Regions from separate parts of the Homo sapiens genome. Here all the other regions are linked to region 1. The links are contacts of gene promoters, found by promoter capture Hi-C in human tissues and cell types (Jung and others, 2019). All regions are on one chromosome and are shown on one strand. The core of a region is centred on a gene start or on the middle of the fragment in contact, and the rest is flanking DNA. Distances in the headings are between cores, read along the strand shown.

Evidence for each region. The method cuts DNA at HindIII sites, captures the fragments that hold promoters and counts their contacts. A contact is called where the count stands out against the background at its distance.
Region 2: a contact is called between the fragment with the promoter of CLCN7 here and the fragment with the promoter of NDUFB10 in region 1, in 1 of the 25 tissues and cell types used here (dorsolateral prefrontal cortex).
Region 3: a contact is called between the fragment with the promoter of TMEM204 here and the fragment with the promoter of NDUFB10 in region 1, in 1 of the 25 tissues and cell types used here (lymphoblastoid cells).
Region 4: a contact is called between the fragment with the promoter of IFT140 here and the fragment with the promoter of NDUFB10 in region 1, in 1 of the 25 tissues and cell types used here (dorsolateral prefrontal cortex).

Annotation. Positions count from the first base shown.
Region 1 is chr16:1,958,240-1,960,787 of GRCh38, reverse strand. NDUFB10 (NADH:ubiquinone oxidoreductase subunit B10) reads right to left here and starts at 1,250. Exons shown (of 4, transcript NM_004548.3): 1 at 1,034-1,250. The coding sequence starts at 1,163. RefSeq lists silencers at 621-730, 1,161-1,470 and an enhancer at 2,193-2,548. The HindIII fragment of the contact is 2,906 bases long and covers 1-2,283 here.
Region 2 is chr16:1,473,589-1,476,688 of GRCh38, reverse strand. CLCN7 (chloride voltage-gated channel 7) reads left to right here and starts at 1,661. Exons shown (of 25, transcript NM_001287.6): 1 at 1,661-1,855. The coding sequence starts at 1,715. RefSeq lists silencers at 1,239-1,588, 1,709-1,918 and an enhancer at 1,158-1,701. The HindIII fragment of the contact is 17,994 bases long and covers 1-3,100 here.
Region 3 is chr16:1,532,128-1,535,227 of GRCh38, reverse strand. TMEM204 (transmembrane protein 204) reads right to left here and starts at 1,562. Exons shown (of 3, transcript NM_024600.6): 1 at 673-1,562. The coding sequence starts at 952. All of the region lies in intron 19 of IFT140 (intraflagellar transport 140), which reads left to right. RefSeq lists enhancers at 829-1,532, 1,533-2,236. The HindIII fragment of the contact is 11,677 bases long and covers 951-3,100 here.
Region 4 is chr16:1,610,613-1,613,712 of GRCh38, reverse strand. It overlaps IFT140 (intraflagellar transport 140), which reads left to right and starts at 1,641. Exons shown (of 31, transcript NM_014714.4): 1 at 1,641-1,745; 2 at 2,860-3,049. It overlaps CRAMP1 (cramped chromatin regulator 1), which reads right to left and starts at 1,353. Exons shown (of 21, transcript NM_020825.4): 1 at 1,056-1,353. RefSeq lists enhancers at 457-957, 958-1,458, 1,847-1,906 and silencers at 837-996, 1,027-1,146, 1,167-1,696, 2,935-3,100. The HindIII fragment of the contact is 16,182 bases long and covers 1-3,100 here.

The DNA of each region.
Region 1 (2,548 bases), core at 1-2,500:
GGCTCCAACAGGGAGCCTCCAGCAAGCAGAACTTACCACCTTACGGCCTCAGCTTCCTCACTGGGAAATGAACGAGCTAAAAGGAGAGCTCGAACATCCAGACACATAGGACAGACATGCTCTACAACTGCTACAAAAGAGAGGGAGCTGGGTCCGCTGTTGCACGGTTTCCAGATCTTTGGGGGTTTGATTTGGAGACTTCACCCTCTTACGGAAGAACCACCAGAGCATGCTATGCACCCCAAGTGTTCAAAAAGAACTGAACCAGGCTGGACACGGTGGCTCAGGCCTGTAATCCCAGCACCTGGGGGCCAAGGTGGGAGGATCACCTGAGGTCAGGAGTTCGAGACCAGCCTGGCCAACATGGTGAAACCCCGTGTCTACTAAAAATATAAAAATTAGCTGGGCGTGGTGGTGGTGCGCCTGTAATCCTAGTACTGGGGAGGCTGAGGCAGGAGAATCGCTTGAACCCGGGGTGGGGCAGAGGTTGCAGTGAGCCGAGATCGCGCCACTGCACTCCAGCCTGGGCAACAGAGTGAGACTGTCTCAGGAAAAAAAAAAACAACAAAAACTGAACTGGGCATTTTCCCGGTTCGTTCCAGAGATGCTGAATTTGGGCATCTCGGCCATCACCCCGACACTTGGTCATCCGGCAGAGAGACATTTGAGAGAGGCCTGAGGCCAGCGGTGCAGTGGAGGGGTGCCCGGGGCGGCGGGGGGCGGAGAGCAGTGCGGGGTCCTGGGGCAGTGGGCGCTGGGTGCGGCAGGGAGGGAAGAGTCCTGGGAAGAAGCGGGGCATCCCGGGGTGCAGGGGAGAGTAAGGGATCCTGGGAGGTGAGGTCCGGGGTGCAGTGGGAGGCCAAAGGAGGCGACGGAGCTCGGAGGTCTCCGGGGGTGGGGAGTTGTCCCCGGGGTGCAGCGGGGGGCGGTCTCAGGCAGACGGGACCCCGGAGGCATTGGAGGATCCAGGCAGGGTGTGGGATCCAGGGGTCCCCAGAGGCCGGCGAGGGAGCCCCGGGCTGGGGCTTCGTACCTCTCACGAGGGTCACGGGTCGGTCCACGATGAGGTCGAACGCTTTCATCATGTAGACGATGGGATTGGGCTGCACCGGCGTGCGGCGCGGGGGCTCAGGGTACACATCCTTGTCCCAGCTGTCCGGCATGGCGGCGGCGGGCGCGGACTCCGCTCCCGGACGCGCTGCCCTGGCCTCTACCTCCGTCCGGGTCCCGCGGCCTAGGTCGCCCGCTACAGAGGACGCCGAGGGCGGCTGCGTCTGCGCGCTGGCGCCGCGATGCACCATGGGACTTGTAGTTCCCCGGCTCCGCCGGGCGCGGCCGGGACCCGCCTCGCCGCAGGGCGCCCCCGCGTGGGGCCTCCGTTCTCGGTCTGTGCCGAGCGCCTACGCGGTGCTGGTCGCTGGTCTGGGCGCCTGGGAAGCAGCCGCGAACCGGACAGATTCCTGCTTACGATGAAAGAAACAGACAAAAGGCAACTGACATAAGGAATAGGAGGGGGTCATTCGGTTCCCACTGCGCGCCAGGCACTGTGCTGAGTGCAGCAGGGAATAAGATAAACTGTGATGGAGAACACAGGCCGTTAGAGCGCACACGACAAAGTGAACAAATAGCACGCGATTCCAAACACCCTACTCCTCCAGGAAGCTTTCCTGGATTGCCTAGTCCCTACAGACTTCTCTGGGCCCCGCTCTCTACAAGGGCCCCTCATGGACTGGCTGGTGCCAGTTAACTTGGGAGCCTGTCTGGGGGAGGGCAGGGAGCAGACCAGGAGGCAGGGCTTGCCCTTAGGCGGCTCATAGGGAGAAGGCACCTACCCTGGGCACAGGGCCCTCTGGCCGGCTTTGATGGTTCCATCCTGGCCCTGGGGCACTCTGGTGCTTCTAGGCAGCTCCACTGAGCAGGGTCCTGCTGGCCACATCTTCAGTCTCCACACCTGGCACGGCCCCTGGCTGCTATCCAGGGGGGACACTGGTCATGTCCTGTCCTGAGGTTGAGGCCAGCGACACAGAACCATCAACCCTACAGACAAACAGTGAGAGGTGACAGCGTGCTGGCAGTCCTCAGAGCCCTCGCTCGCTCTCGGCGCCTCCTCTGCCTGGGCTCCCACTTTGGCGGCACTTGAGGAGCCCCTTTCTGGGCTGGCCAAGGCCAGAGCGGGCTCCCTCAGCTTGCGGGGAGGTGTGGAGGGAGAGGCGCAGGCGGGAACCGGGGCTGCGCGCGGTGCTTTGCGGGCCAGCGCGAATTCCAGGTGGGTGTGGGCTCGGCGGGCCCCGCACTCGGAGAGCCTGGCCGGCCCTGCCGGCCCTGGGCAATGAGGGGCTTAGCACCCGGGCCAGCGGCTGCGGAGGGTGTGCTGGGTCCCCCAGCAGGCCGGCCCACCGGCGCTGCGCTCGATTTCTCTCGCCAGGCCTTAGCTGCCTCCCCGCGGGGCAGGGCTCGGGACCTACAGCCCGCCATGCCTGAGCCTCCCCCACTCCGTGGGCTCCTGTGCGGCCCGAACCTCCCCGACGAGCGCCGCCCCCTGCTCCAG
Region 2 (3,100 bases), core at 412-2,911, 480 kb after region 1:
AGGTTGCAGTGATCCAAGATAGCGCCATTGCACTACAGCTTGGGTGACAAGAGTGAAACTCCGTCTCAAAAAAAAAAAAAAAAAAGAAGGAAAAAGAAAAAAGAAATGCCAACCATGGCCGGGCATGGTGGCTCATACGAAGAGTCCTAGCAACTCAGGAGGCTGAGGAAGGAGGATCCCTTGAACCCAAGAGGTCAAGGCTGCAGTGAGCTATGATCTTGTCATTGTACTTCAGCCTGGGTGACAAAGTGAGACTGTGTCTCAAAAATAAAAAAATAATAATAATAATTTAAAAAAAGGCCGGGCACCGTGACTCACGCCTGTAATCTCAGCACTTTGGGAGGCCGAGGCGGGTGGATCACGAGGTCAGGAGATCGAGACCATCCTGGCTAACACAGTGAAACCCCATCTGTACTAAAAATACAAAAAATTAGCCGGCCATGGTGACGGGCGCCTGTAGTCCCGGCTACTCGGGAGGCTGAGGCATGAACCCGGGAGGCAGTGAGCCGAGATTGGGCCACTGCACTCCAACCTGGGCGACAGAGTGAGACTCCGTCTCAATAATAAAAATATCGACCTTTTAAAAGGAAGAGGATGAGGCACAAAATATAAAGAGTTTACTCTAGAGGCTAACGTGGAAGGATCACTTGAGGTCAGAAGTTTGAGAACAGCCTGGGCAACACACTGTGAGCTCCACAGCAAAAATTAGCCGGGTGTGGTGGTGCAGGCCTGTGGTCCCTGTTACTCCAGAGGCTGAGGCGGGAGGATGGCTTGAGTCCAGGAGGTCAAGGCTGCACTGAGCTGTGACCGCACCACCGCACTCCAGCCTGGGCGACAGAAGGAGACCCTGTCTCAAAATAAATAAATAAATGACCCAGAAGGTGGGGACAGGGTGGGGGCTGATGTAAAGCTGTCAAGAATTCTCTTTGGTTTATGGAAATACCATTGATTAGTGATGGGCTGTGCCCTGGTGCGGGTACAGGGTCCGGGCGGCTATTTGGCTAATTCACAGCTATCTGCGTAGTAGCCGGCAGTTTCCAGAGGCGACCCTCCTGTACTGTCTCTGGGGCCTGATCGTTGAAGAGGACTCGCCTTCTGTTCTTTTCTCATTAGGCGGGAGGACCCTCTGGGGCTGCCTGGAGGAAGCCTCCACTCCGACCCTCGCCCGAGTGCCTACTGCGAGGGCGGATGCATGCTTCGGGACTTCTAATTTCATCCTTCACGTCTTTAGCCGCCGCCTATGGCAAGGAAAGGCCTGCCCTCGCCCCTGCCTCCCTCCTCCCTTCCCCACCGCGGCTCCGTCACGATCGGCGCGGGCGACCGGGCCTGGGGGAGCCCCTCCAGCCGGCTCCTGCCCTCAGGCCCCGGGCGCTTCCCTCGCCCCGACTCCCGGGCCCGAGGTCCCGGGGGCGGCCATTCGCCTCCCAAGCACTCGGCGCTCAGCCCAACGGGGCCGCCTTTGCAGTCGCGTGGGCAGAACGGGGTCCTCAGGGCCGCGGCGATTCTCTAGGGCGGGCGGCGCCACGACCCGCCGGGAGCGCGGCTCCCAGGAGCCCCCGCGCGACCGGGCCTCGGTGGTTGCCGTTGCAGGTCACATGGTCGCCGTCGCTCATCACGTGGCCCCGTCGCGCGTCACGTGGCCGCCGGCGCGGGTCACGAGAACAAACACGGGGGCAGCCGGCGCTTCCCGGCCGGTGTCGCTCCGCGGCGGGCCATGGCCAACGTCTCTAAGAAGGTGTCCTGGTCCGGCCGGGACCGGGACGACGAGGAGGCGGCGCCGCTGCTGCGGAGGACGGCGCGGCCCGGCGGGGGGACGCCGCTGCTGAACGGGGCTGGGCCTGGGGCTGCGCGCCAGGTGAGGCCGGGCAGGGCGCAGGCGGGGAAACTGAGCCCTCGTGCGCCCCGCAGCCCGCGCCCTCGTGAGCCTTCTGGCGGCGCCGCGTGTCTCGGTCCTGGAGGCGACCGAGGCGCGGTGGACTCGGGAACGCGCCCCGGGGCTCCTCGGCGGGGCCGGGCTGGCGGGGGCGCCTGGGGTCTGGAGTCTTCGGAGGCCGCGCCGGGCTCGGTGGCCGGGAGGGCTGCGTGGGCGAGGCGGAGCTCGCCAGACCCCGCGGAATGTGGGGCGCTGAGGGGCGCCGGGGCAGCCGTGGCGCACGTTCATTCCCTCCGGTGTCCCCCAGACTGGCCCTAAAGGGGTGCAAGTGGCTTTCTGTTCAGGTGACTTTTAAAAATTGTCATCCTACACGAGCAACTAATTTTGTTTGCGTTTTTGACCCCCTGGGAGATGGAAACAGTTAAGATTGCAGCCGGGTCACTGTCTTTCAGTGAGAATGACTGAGCGCCTTTATCTGCCATCTTTCTGTGTGGGGATCAGTCCCGACTTTCAGGTGATCTTGGGAGTGACGAGTATTTGTACTCAGTCTCCCTTCGCACCGAGTTGAATTTGCAATGTGCAGGCAAACACAATAAGCAGCAAGTCAGAGGTTGGAATGCGTTCCGCATGTCACCCTGCAGCGTGCGTCTGAGCAGTGTTAAGGTCTGGAGAACCGTTGCGGGTACATTTGTTTCCCTGTCTGTGTATTGTCTTAATATTTTTTTTTTTTTGAGACGGAGTTTCACTGTAGTTGCCCAGGCTGGAGTGCAATGGCGCGATCTCGGCTCACTGCAACCCCCACCTCCCGAGTTTAAGTGACTCTCCTGCCTCAGCCTCCTGAGTAGCTGGAATTACAGGCGTGCGCCACCGCGCCCGGCTAATTTTGTATTTTTAGTAGAGACGGGGTTCCTCCGTGTTGGTCAGGCTGGCCTCGAACTCCCGACCTCACGTGATCCCCCGCACCTCAGCCTCCCAAAGTGCTGGGATTACAGGCGTGAGCCACTGCGCCTGGCCGTATTGTGTTACTTTTGAGTTAATGGACCGTTTTGTTGATGGGTCTTAATCTGCTTTGCAGTTATTCTTTACATTTTCTCTTGTCTAGTCCTTTAAACACTTGTCTTGTGCTTAAAGATTAGGAAGGACGGCAGGGCACGGTGGCTCACATCTGTAATCCCAGCACTTTGGGAGGCCGAGGCGGGTGGATCATGAGGTCAGGAGATTGAGACC
Region 3 (3,100 bases), core at 313-2,812, 430 kb after region 1:
TGGCCTCCCTGTCTCCTTTCCAGCGTCCCATCTGAAGCTCATCCCTGGGGATCCTGCTGCTGCTCTCTGCCTCAAAGACCCCAACAACCGTGAGAACAAAGCCAGAACTCACCCGTGTATTTTTAAACTTCTTGTTTATTTTACTCATGAGTAAAGAAAGAGCATTTTCATTTTTTTTTTATGTTCAGAGACAGGGTCTCTCGCTATGTAGGCTAGGTTCGTCTTGAACTCTTGGCCTCAAGCAGTCCTCCCGCCTCAGCCTCCCAAAGCGCTAGGATTACAGACGTGAACCACTGCGCCCAGCCGTAATAATTATTTTCAACCAAGGAAAAATGCCTTTCCTTGATTTGATTAATGTACCCATCTCTTAACTATGTGTAACGGCAGAGAGGCCCCCCAAATGCCTGAGATGAATTCCTGTGTAAAAGAGCTGGAGGCAGATTCTGTGCTGAGCAGGAGGAGTGTGTGGGGCCACCACTCACCAGGGAGAGGGGGCCTTGGGGCCTGGTTCCCTGGGAGACACAGTGCCCCCTCCTGCCTGCCCAGAGGCCACGCTCAGGGCAGAGCAGGGGCCAGGCCTCCCCACCCGCTCACCAGGTCCGCGCCTAACATCTCCCATGTGCCCTCGAGCCTCGGCCACGCTGAAGGCATCAGGAAAACAATTGGACTTACGTTTGACGGTGCCTCGGGACTCCTGGAAGCCGGCTGCCTCGGAGCCCCAGCCCAGCGCCTCACAGTCATGTGCGTCCACCTGGCCGGCTCTGGCCCCAGGGCTCGGCCCTCCCCGGGTCCTGTCCACCAGCCAGCAGGACCTCCACAGCCCCACGCTGCGCCTGCGCCCATCCTCCAGCGTCTGGCACACCCAGTTGGAGGTGAAGGCCGCCACGTTGTTGAGGATGAGTGAGACCAGGGCCACCAGCACGGCCGCGGCCACGAGTCTCTGCACGGTCATCGCTGACGCCGGTGCCGCCGCTTATCCGGAGAAAGCCAAGTCCCAGTCCGCGGCCGCACGTCCAGGGAGAGCCGACGCTGCTAGGGGTGGCTAGAGGACATCACCACTCATCCTCGGGGCGGCGCGGGCGGAGGCCCATGGGATGGTCCAGGTGTGCCGCCTCTCGGCCCGGCCTTATCCTCCTTCCTGCACCTGGAGCAGGGCCAGGCCTGTGCTGAAGCTGCTCGCCTCGGGGCCCATCCCAGGGAGCAGAGGGTGGGCAGCAGCAAGAACCCAGGGCCAGGAGTGCGCCGTCTTCCCGGGAAGCGGAGGCCGGCCTGTGCCGCGCGTGCCTCTTCTCGCCTGCAGCAGTGGAAAACAGAGTCACTCGGGAGGCCGGCAGCAGTGGGAGTCGAGCCCGCGCCACACTCCTTAGCACCGGCCTGCTGTGAGTGCCAGGCTCCGGGCAGGGTGGCCGGTGTGGAGCGGGTTCACAGCTCCTCTGTGCTGCCTGGGCCCCTGTGTGGATGCCTCCAGGGCAGTTGGCCGGTCCTGGAAAGCAGAGTGGCTGCTGCAGGGACGCCCGTGTGCGCAGAGCTCGCCTTCCCTGGCTCTCAGCAGAGAGGAAATGGTTGTTTTTGAGACTGTTTTTGGTGAGCTGGAAGGCGTAGCCAACCGCAACAAATAGCGGCCCTGCCGCGGCAGCCAGACACCAACAGGATGTGCTTCCTGATGGGAAAGGCCAGGAGACTTCTGAGGCCCTGCTCCAGGCCCACCTCCTGCCGCCCCTCCCCATCTTCCTGTCCCAGAGGAGAGGCCAGGGATGCCGGGTGCGGGACAGATCCCTCGTCTCGCCTGTTGCTTTTAAGCCTGGTGGCCCCCGGGGCCTGGAGGCTGGTACTGAGCGACTATTGCCTGCCCTGGGGACTTCACACCCCCCAGCCATCCAGTTGCCCCCAGGACCATAGGTACCCCCAGGACCATAGGAACCACAAGCCTCCCCCCGCCCGTGTGTTCCAGGCCTGCCCCCGCCACGGGAATGCTGCCCTCAAAAGGGGGGCAGATATCACAGGATTGCTGGGAAGGGGAGAGACCCGTGTGCCTGGAGGGAGCAAGTTCACCCAGACCTGCAGGGCCAGGGACCTGTACTTGGAGGACCTCGGGGCCAGGGACCTGTACTTGGAGGGCCTTGGGGCCAGGGACCTGTACTTGGAGGACCTCGGGGCCAGGGACCTGTACTTGGAGGACCTCGAGGCCAGGTCATTCTTAGGTGGCAAGAAGGGTAAGATTCTGGATGTGCTGGGTGGGGCTCTCAGCGGGGCCTGGGACAGAGCGAATGTCACGTGGGGCCTGGGCCACCTCTGCTATTGATGGGAACGGTCACCCCCCACAGCTGGGGACAGGACTAGGCAGGTCACCTTGTGAGTGGTCAGGCTCTCGGGCAGAGCTTATGCTGCCAGGGAGCTCAGAAGCATCTTCGTCTATTCTGCTCAGAATTATTCTGCCCAGCTGGGCAGACACCACGAGAGGGTCTCCTACTCTGTCCCATCTCCAGAGACCCGAAACCCAGCATGGGATTCCCAGCCTACCCAGGCTCCAAAGCTTCGTGAATGCAGGTGTCCCACATCCGTGCAAACTGTTCATGGGCACACGCCCAAGACAGTGCTGGGACAGAGAGTCCTGTTCCCAGCCTGTGGTAACAGCAGAGCTTTGACCGTTTCCTGTCCTTGCACTGCCCGTGCTTGGGCCCTGGCTCAGGGCGGTCCCGAGAGCTGCCACTTCCTGGGACCAGTCTCCATTCACACGTTGGCATGTGGCTCTGTATATCCACAGGTGAAGCAAGGTTCCCCACACACGCCCTGTGTCTGTTCCAGAAAGGCAGCAGCTCCGTCCTCACCAGCCCGTGGTGCGTGCTGGGTCCTGAGAAGCGTTTCTCCACTGGCTTCCTGAGGGACGTGCCTGGGGGGGATTTTCCCCGGGGATTTGTCGCAGACGTGTCCGTCAGGTTTCTCCTTTCCCCTCTTCCTTGGCTTGTGCCCAGGGAAAAGCTGCTGTTTCTATTTCTGTTCTCAGCCCCCGGAACCTGACGGGGCGTGCGGGGCACAGTGGTGCTGCCGGCCCCCACTCTCCCGGGTGGCTCGGAAGGCCCTGGGGGGATGTCCCCAGCCC
Region 4 (3,100 bases), core at 392-2,891, 350 kb after region 1:
ATTAATAAAATTATTGCATCAACTTTGCTACCCACCGCCCTGTAAAATGTCAACAACAAAGTGCAGTGACTAAAAATGCTGCAGCCCAGAAAGCAGAGCCACTCAAAAATAAACTCAGACAATCAGGTACACAGCAAGAGCTGCAGCCCAGAAACAGTCCGGGACGGGCACGTGTGAGGAAGCAAAAACGCTGAAGATTAGATTCCTCAGCAGATACTGACCCTGCGTTCAACTCAACTGTTGAGAACGGGGGCATTTCCACTTCAAAGGAACACACGATCGAGGCACCAACACCAACCACGAAATACAGGGACGCGGGCGAGGACCTCTCTTTCCGAGAGATCGGGAAATGGCTTCAAAGTCGCAATGATGCCCCCACCCTGAGGTGCAGATCACACAAGGATCCGTGGCCGTTTTCTCCTGTCGGAATTGGTCTAGGGAATCTCGAGTTCATGCTAGTTTTAAAAAAAACTCTGCCAAAGAACAAAACCACCCACGACAAACACCCCAACTTAAGGGATTTCGTGGCAAGACTTCCCACTCTTCCCCCTCAACCCACCTCTTTCCACTCAAGAAACCTAAACCCCCAAAGACCTCGTCTCGGGCTGAGAACCCCGCTGCCCAGGGACCTGTCCGCCCGCAGGCCACCCGGGACCCAAGCAAAACAAACTCGGCCACCAGAGTGAACTCGCCCGCTCGCCGGGCTCCACACCCAAGACGCCGACCGAGCACGGGGAAGCGCTTTTCGCCACTGAAAGGACCGACGCCGTCCAGACTTTACCCTAAGGGCCAACAAGCAGGGGGATGGCCTCCTTTTCGCGAGAACCTCCAACGAGACCGGACTTTTCTCGGAGGCGCAGTCTCCTCCAGCCCCGTCCCGCTCCGCACCGGCTCGCGTCTCGGGATGGGGACGCAGAAGCCTCCTCGCCCTGAGGCCAGTTGTGGCTGTACCGGGCGCTGTGGAAGCGACGCCCCCCCCGCGCTCTCCCGCGCCGCCCGACAGGACCCCCCGGCCGGGCCTCGCCATGACAGCCCCGCCGCCCAGCCTTGGTCACCTTTTTCATCAACGCCGGGCGGCAGCCTGGCTTCCCGGGGCCTCCCCGGGTGCCCGCAGAACCAGCCGGGCCGGGCAGCCCCGGCCCCCGAGCGCCGGCTGCAGGGAGGCCGCAACGCCGGGCTGGTCGTCCGCCTCGGAAGCGACTGGTCGAGCGGCGCTAGCCCCGGCACGTCCCCTCCGCGGGCCGGCGCGCGGCTGCGGGGGCTGCGGACGCAGATACTGCCGCCACTCACCCTAGCGAAGCCGGCCCGCCGCCCTCAGCAGCAGTTCCGGCTACGGCGGCCGGTGGGGACCTCACGGACGGCGCGCGGGGGCGGGGCCGGGGTGCGCGGGCGCGCGGGGCGGGGCGACGAACGCGGGGGCGAGCACCCCCAATGTTTCTTCGGGCCCGTCTCCCCAAAACGGCGCTCCCATTGGCTAGCGCTGGGCGGGCGCGCTCGCACGTACGAGCCCGGTGGGCGTCGGGGGCGAGCCCGCGGCGCCAGTAGTGTTGTGACGCCAGCCTCGCGACCTTGCGGACTGTGCGTCTCTTTGGATTGGTGGACAGACAGCCAATAGGCCAGGGCCCGTGCTGTGATTGGCCGCAGCAGTGTTGACGGATACGTGAGAAGAAAACGGCGTGGTAGCTCGGAGTGTGGAATCGGGCGCGAACCTGAGTTCTGAGAAGTGTGGAAGCACGTCTGAGGCAGTTAAGCGCACCCTTTCCTGGGTGGAGTATGTGCTTCTGCGCTACGTTAGCGTAGCCGAGCGGCGCTGGGCACTTGGTCATTTTCTTCATAGCAAGAAAGCAGAGGGGTGTTTTTCAAATTCCAGTGTTTCTTTCTTTCTTTTTTTTTTTTTTTGAGACGGAGTTTCGCTCTGTCGCCCAGGCTGGAGTGCAGTGGCGCAATCTTGGCTCACTGCAAGCTCCGCCTCCCAGGTTCAAGCGATTCTCCTGCCTCAGCCTCCCGAGTAGTTGGAATTACAGGCGCGCGCCACCATACTCGCTAATTTGTGTGTTTTTAGTACATACGGGGTTTCACCATGTTGGCCAAGCTAGTCTCGAACTCCTGACCTCAAGTGATCCGCTCGTCTCAGCCTCCCAAAGTACTGGGTTTGCAGGCGTGAGCCACCGCGCCCGGCTCAAATTCCAGTGTTTCTTTTTCTTTTCTTTTTTTTTTTTTTTGACTCGCTCTGTCGCCCAGGCTGGAGTGCAGTGGCCCGATCTCGGCTCGCTGCAGTCTCCGCCTCCCGGGGCTCAGGCGATTCTCCTCCCTCAGCCTCCTGTAGCCGAGACTAGAGGCGCCACCGCGCCCGGCTAATTTTTGTAATTTTTTAGAGACAGGATCTCGCCTTGTTGCCAAGGCTGGTCTCGAACTCCTGGGCTCCAACGATCCGCCCGCCCCAGCCCCCAAGAGCTGGAAGCCCAAGCGCGAGCCCCGCGTCCGGCCGCCAGCTGCTTTCTTGGGGGCGCTCCCTGCCTCGCTTGGCTCTGTGGAGTCCGGGGCCCGGCGATGGAACAGGCCCTCAGTCACCCAACACCTCAGGACACTGCCGAGCGCATCGACTTTCCCAGAAACGCTTGACCCACGCCCTCCGCTCCGAAACTAGAAAAGCGGAGCCCAGGGAAGGCCTGGGCCGAGACCGCCGCGTGCTGGAAAGGCTCCGCCTCGGGATGCACGGGAAGGGAACACGCCCAGGAGGGGAGGATGCCGCGGTTGATCGGGGCTGTGACAGCGCGCCCTCCACACAAAGGGGACCCAGACGCCGGCCCTGCGCCGCCGTCTCTCCTAGAAAAAGCTCGTCCCGCTTCTCTCTTGCAGAGCGGAATAACCTGGCCCCCGACGCTCGGGCCTCGGAGCTGCACGTGCGTGCCCGATCGCCTTCGGCTCTTTCCGGCCGCTCGGGGCGCTTCGGGAGTCCTCGGGGCCGCCTCGCTCACCTTCGGCTATTTCCGCGTTCCTGGCGCGCCGTTGTCCCGGCAACGCGCGGCGGCTCAGCGGCCTGGCAGAGGTGAGTGGCCTTAGGGCTAGGGCGGCCGACCCAGGTCCTTAGGAGCCAGGC